Linked DNA regions of Homo sapiens: region 2 is linked to region 1. The links are contacts of gene promoters, found by promoter capture Hi-C in human tissues and cell types (Jung and others, 2019). All regions are on one chromosome and are shown on one strand. Each heading gives the region's core, a stretch centred on a gene start or on the middle of the fragment in contact. The rest is flanking DNA. Distances are from core to core; before and after follow the strand shown. Region 1 holds the start of SKA3 (spindle and kinetochore associated complex subunit 3). Region 2 overlaps XPO4 (exportin 4).

Region 1 (2,633 bases), core at 52-2,551:
TACAGGCGTGTGCCACCGTGCACGGCCAAATCTTTTTTTCTTTTTGAGACGGACTCTTGCTCTGTCGCCGAGGCTGGAGTGCAGTGGCGGATCTCGGCTCACTGCAAGTTCCGCCTCCCGGGTTCACGCCATTCTCCTACCTCAGCCTCCCGAGTAGCTGGGACTACCGGCGCCCGCCACCACGCCCGGCTAATTTTTTGTATTTTTAGTAGAGACGGGGTTTCACCGTGTTAGCCAGAATGGTCTCGATCTCCTGACCTTGTGATCCGCCCGCCTCAGCCTCCCAAAGTGCTAGGATTACAGGCGTGAGCCACCGCGCCGGGCAGAAATAGACATTTTCAAGTGACTGGAGATCATTCATTATATAATTAAAGTAAAAGTAGTCTGCAGGGTGTAATATTTTAAAGCACATTACAATTATGACATTTATGAAATAATTCCAAAATCTGAACTACTTTTTCAACAATTTAAAAAATCTCTAATAAAAAGGGGAATGGTGAATTTTGCTTTATTTATATACACATATTTTTTTAAACCCCAGCACTGTTGAGTACTAGTGTTTGTGTTGGCAACATGGTTTAGCGGGAAAAACACAGAGGTTTACTGCAACTGTGGACCACGTGAGTGAGAAAAAAGTCACTATATGTGTAAAGTATTGTGTAAAGAACGTTAAATAGCTTGATTCTAAGAGAAACTGTTTAGGTTTACATGGTATTTTACTGACAAGCACACATATTGTATGTGACGAAAGCATATCACGTATAAATTAGTATATGTATTATGAGCTCAATCTGTTAATTTAGGTTCTTATTCTTAAGTGCTGCTGTCTCTGTTTATAACGTAATAGTGCTACTTTCATTATCTCAAGAGAGCCGTGGGGTTGTACATGGGTCTAAAACGGACACGCGACAAGGGTTCCTAGGAATAAACCATAAACAGGCCCGGGAGCTACGCTAACGCCAAACGCCGAGCAGTGAGACGCGCAGCACCCGCCCTGCGCCTCGGTGGCAGCCGTCCACGCCGTCAGTGCCTGGCGGTTCCCGTGGGACATACCGTCCACTCGCCACGCCCCTCCGCCCGCGGCGCACCCCACGCACCGTGCCCTGGCCGCCCGCCTCACGCACCGCTTTCCTCTCCGTCCAGCGCTCGCTGCAGCCGGGCCGTCTCGCAGTCCAGCGTGCTGGCCAGAGACCGCAGCTTCCCGCAGAAGCTCCGGATAGGGTCCATGCTGAGCACAGCGGGGAAGGACTCCAGGCGTACGCAGACCCCACCGCTCAGCTCACAGCCTCCCGCCACTAGTTTGAATCTCGGCGCCGGACGCGTCCTCGGCTCTGCGCAGGCGCAGTCCTCTCTCGCGAGAGCCGAAGTCTCTCGCCGAGGCCCCAGGAGACCCCGCGAGACGGGTGCGCTTACGCCACGGCGTCTGCTGGCGGCCGCGGAGACGCAGAGTCTTGAGCAGCGCGGCAGGTGAGTAGCTGTGCGAATTCGGTTCTCTAGGGAGCTCCTTCTTCGCCTGCTGGCCTTACCTGGGCTCCCCGCTTCTCTGGAGGGGAGGCGGTGCGGGAACTCCCGTAGGCGTGAGCTGGAGCGCGCGCCCGCTGCTCTCTCCAGGTCCGGCCGCGCCAGTTCGCCTCCGCAAAGCCCGTCCCTCTCTTCCGCAGGCACCATGTTCCTGACTGCGCTCCTCTGGCGCGGCCGCATTCCCGGCCGTCAGTGGATCGGGAAGCACCGGCGGCCGCGGTTCGTGTCGTTGCGCGCCAAGCAGAACATGATCCGCCGCCTGGAGATCGAGGCGGAGAACCATTACTGGCTGAGCATGCCCTACATGACCCGGGAGCAGGAGCGCGGCCACGCCGCGGTGCGCAGGAGGGAGGCCTTCGAGGCCATAAAGGCGGCCGCCACTTCCAAGTTCCCCCCGCATAGATTCATTGCGGACCAGCTCGACCATCTCAATGTCACCAAGAAATGGTCCTAATCCTGAGTCGTCACCCTTGGATTTTATGGATCACGGAGCTGACCATCTTTACCTGGTCCTGGAACTGAAAAACTGTAGCTTGTGTGAAAATGAGCCTTTGGACCAGTCTTTATTAAAACAAACAAACATGAGTAGTCTGCATATCGAATATCTAGAGCTCTAAACCCCCAATACTTAAAAGTCTAATTGCTGTCCTGTGGTTTCATTAGTCTGATAGGAAGATAGGGATTTCCTCAGTCACAGATGATATTTTGAAGGAAAGCTGCAATAAAGCCACAATGATTTGAGGTCTTTGCTTAAGTATGAGATACTTGATGGGGGCTTTATCATGCAACATTAGTTTGCTTACCTTAAGAATTGCCCAAAAATGAAAGAAAATATGAGCTTTTCAGTTAAACATACTCCTAAAAACATTTTCCGGGATTTTACTACTAAAATTGGACATTTAAGCGAAGTAAAAGAGGCCGGGTGCGGTGGCTCACGCCTGTAATCCCAACACTTTAGGAGTCCAAGGCGGGCGGATCACTTGAGGTCAGGAGTTCAAGACCAGCTTGGCCAAGGTGATAAAACCCGTCTCTACTAATACAAAAAAAATTAGCTGGGTATGTTGGTGCAGGCTTGCAATCCCAGCTACTTGGGACGCTGAGGTGGGAGGATC
Region 2 (2,633 bases), core at 64-2,563, 390 kb before region 1:
CCTACCTCAGCCTCCTAAGAGCCTGGGACTACAGGCATGCACCACCATCCCTGGCTAATTTTTGAATTTTTAGTAGGGACAGGGTTCTGCAATGTTGAGCAGGCTGGTCTCAAGCTCCCAGCCTCAATCAATCCACCCACCTTGGTCTCCCAAAGTGCAAAAATTACAAGCATGAGCCACTGCACCTGGCATGCTGTAATTTTTCATTGGCTTCTTGGGATATCATGATAGACCAAAATGGTGAAACCAAATGTTAATTACATTTGGAAAAGAAGGATAAGGTGCAGCATCCCAATCCCCAACCATGGAGCCAGAGTGGCTCCCCTAATTGCCTTATCAAAGGGACAGTCCTGTTCACAGGGGACCAAGTATAATCTCCTATCATTTCCCTACTCATGAGAAATGGTAGAGGTGGCAAGGCATGGTGGCTCACACCTGTAATCCTAGGCACTTTGGGAGGCCGAGGCGAGTGGATTGCTTAAGTTCAGGAGTTCGATACAAGCCTGGGCAACATGGTGAAACTCCGTCTCTACAAAAAATAAGCCAGGTGTGGTGGTGCACACCTGTAGTCCCAGCTACTTGGGGAGCTGAGGCGGGAGGATTGCTTGAGGCCAGGAGGCCGAGGCAGGAGTTAGCAGTAATTGCACCACTGCACTCCAGCCTGGGTAATAATAAAGTGAGACCCTGTCTCAGAAAAAAAAAAAAAGCGAGATAGTAGAGCCTCTGGGGCCAGGCAGCAAGTATCATACTGGCCATTCCTGAAACCTGCTCTTTCCTGCAGTGTGTAAATATGTTAAAAGAGAGGGAGAGAGAGAAATAAAGGAAGAGAAGGAAGGAAGGAAGAAAGGAAGGGAGGAAGAGACAAGAGGGTGGAAGGGAACGGGGGAGGAAAGGAGGGAGGGAGGGAGGGAGAAAGAAAGAAAGAGGAGGGAGGAAGGAAGGAAGAAAGGAAAGAAAAGAAAAATGAAAGAAAAAGATAGAAAAAAGAAAAGAAAAAGAGAGGAAGGAAGGAAGGAAGGAAGGAAGGAAGGAAGGAAGGATCAGACAAGACGACTACCTTGCTAGTAAGCAACAAGTAAGACAAATGACAGAGAAAGGGCACAGATTTGAGAGCAGGTACCACCTGCAGGAAGTGGCAGCCTAGGGCAGAGAGCAAGAAATGAAGCCCCAGGGCACCTTCAGCTTAGGGCACAGATGTTACGGGAAGTCTAGAGAAAGGAGGTCTTTAAATAGTATGGAAGACCTCCTCTAAACCCTTTTTTAAAGATGGAAATAAAACGCCAAAGCTTCTTGGCCATGCTGGGAGGTATATATATATATACGTGTGTGTGTATATATATATATATATATATGTACCTTACATATATATGTGTGTATATATATGCATGGGAGAGGAAAAGGGGAAACAGAGGCAGCAAACTGTTCAATACGGTCCTTTTCATAAATTTCACAGGCACCTATTCGATCAGAAGTGGGGAGACAGGTAAGCTAGCCTAACTCTTCTATTAACCCCATTATCAGTGATGCTTCAGAATCTTTAAAAGATCAACAAAATGAAATAATATACTGTTTTCTATAATATGCAATAAAATACTGTCTTCCATACTGTCTGAAGGCAGACTCTTCCTTGTCTGCCATCCTGTCTCCCTTACAAAAAACCATGAGTTCTTCACACACCCATTATGTATTCCTCATTCCTAGCACAGTTGTTTAAGGACAGGCTTTGGGGCAGTGACCATTGCAAAGGATGGTTCATAATGGTGGAGGACAAAAAATAAATGCTTTGAACTGACAAACAGCTGTCAGATAAACACAAACTGACATGTGAAAGCTAATAAAGAAGCTAAGAAATACTTCCTCACTGAAACAGAACTGAAGCACTGAGTCACAGATCCTATAAGGGGGGATTAATGACCCACCATCTATCTCAACAATCTCTTTGCAAAATAGAATGAGAAGAGTCCCCTGAAAAGAGGCATGTCCAGTACCTGGTGCAAACACACCAACGTGTAGAAAGCTTCGCCAGCCGCAGTGGTCATCTCTGTGTTGTGCTTTTGCAAAACCAGCATATCAAAAACCAGCTGAAATTACATAAGACTTCTAAATAAAAACATAGGATGATCATATATCCTCCAGTCCCTCCCCAGTCCAAAAAAGAAGAAGAGAGGGTTGGTTGTTATTCTATTTATTAAATCAATCTGAAATTTTCCTTAATGTTTTAAAAAAAATACCTTACAGATATTGCTACTTGCTGTGGTATCTGAATAATCAACAATATCAAATTCCCTCAATGTGTACCACATCAATTTCCAAGAACACAAAAAATAGAGGATGAGAATGTGTCCATGAAGAGCTGATCTCCAGAAAAAAACAGTGAACAGGAAGTCATGGTTTCCTTGCCCCCGAAAGAATGGAAGCATTTCCTCATTTGAATGCAGAATTATGTGCACCGACCACACTTTTGAAAGTAGCTGATTTTCTGACCTACCGCACAGACATCTTACCTTAAGAAAGTGCCGTGTTGCTAGAAAAAGTGGTGAGTCTGTTTCTTGTGCTTTTGCACACTGTTCAGCTAACGGTGTCAAGGCCTCCAGGCAAAGCTGGCAAACCTCCGAACTCATTCTGATCATGAA

Evidence for each region. The method cuts DNA at HindIII sites, captures the fragments that hold promoters and counts their contacts. A contact is called where the count stands out against the background at its distance.
Region 2: a fragment that was not itself captured here is called in contact with the fragment with the promoter of SKA3 in region 1 in 1 of the 25 tissues and cell types used here (spleen).

Annotation. Positions count from the first base shown.
Region 1 is chr13:21,175,251-21,177,883 of GRCh38, forward strand. It overlaps SKA3 (spindle and kinetochore associated complex subunit 3), which reads right to left and starts at 1,302. Exons shown (of 9, transcript NM_145061.6): 1 at 1,125-1,302. The coding sequence starts at 1,227. It overlaps MRPL57 (mitochondrial ribosomal protein L57), which reads left to right and starts at 1,408. Exons shown (of 2, transcript NM_024026.5): 1 at 1,408-1,467; 2 at 1,662-2,633. The coding sequence starts at 1,667. The coding sequence ends at 1,975. RefSeq lists enhancers at 1-97, 820-1,542, 1,558-1,877. The HindIII fragment of the contact is 23,400 bases long and covers 1-2,633 here.
Region 2 is chr13:20,784,977-20,787,609 of GRCh38, forward strand. It overlaps XPO4 (exportin 4), which reads right to left. Exons shown (of 23, transcript NM_022459.5): 21 at 2,505-2,622; 22 at 1,989-2,081. Among named protein-coding and RNA genes, the nearest start is that of EEF1AKMT1, 12 kb to the left of the region's middle. The HindIII fragment of the contact is 3,118 bases long and covers 1-2,633 here.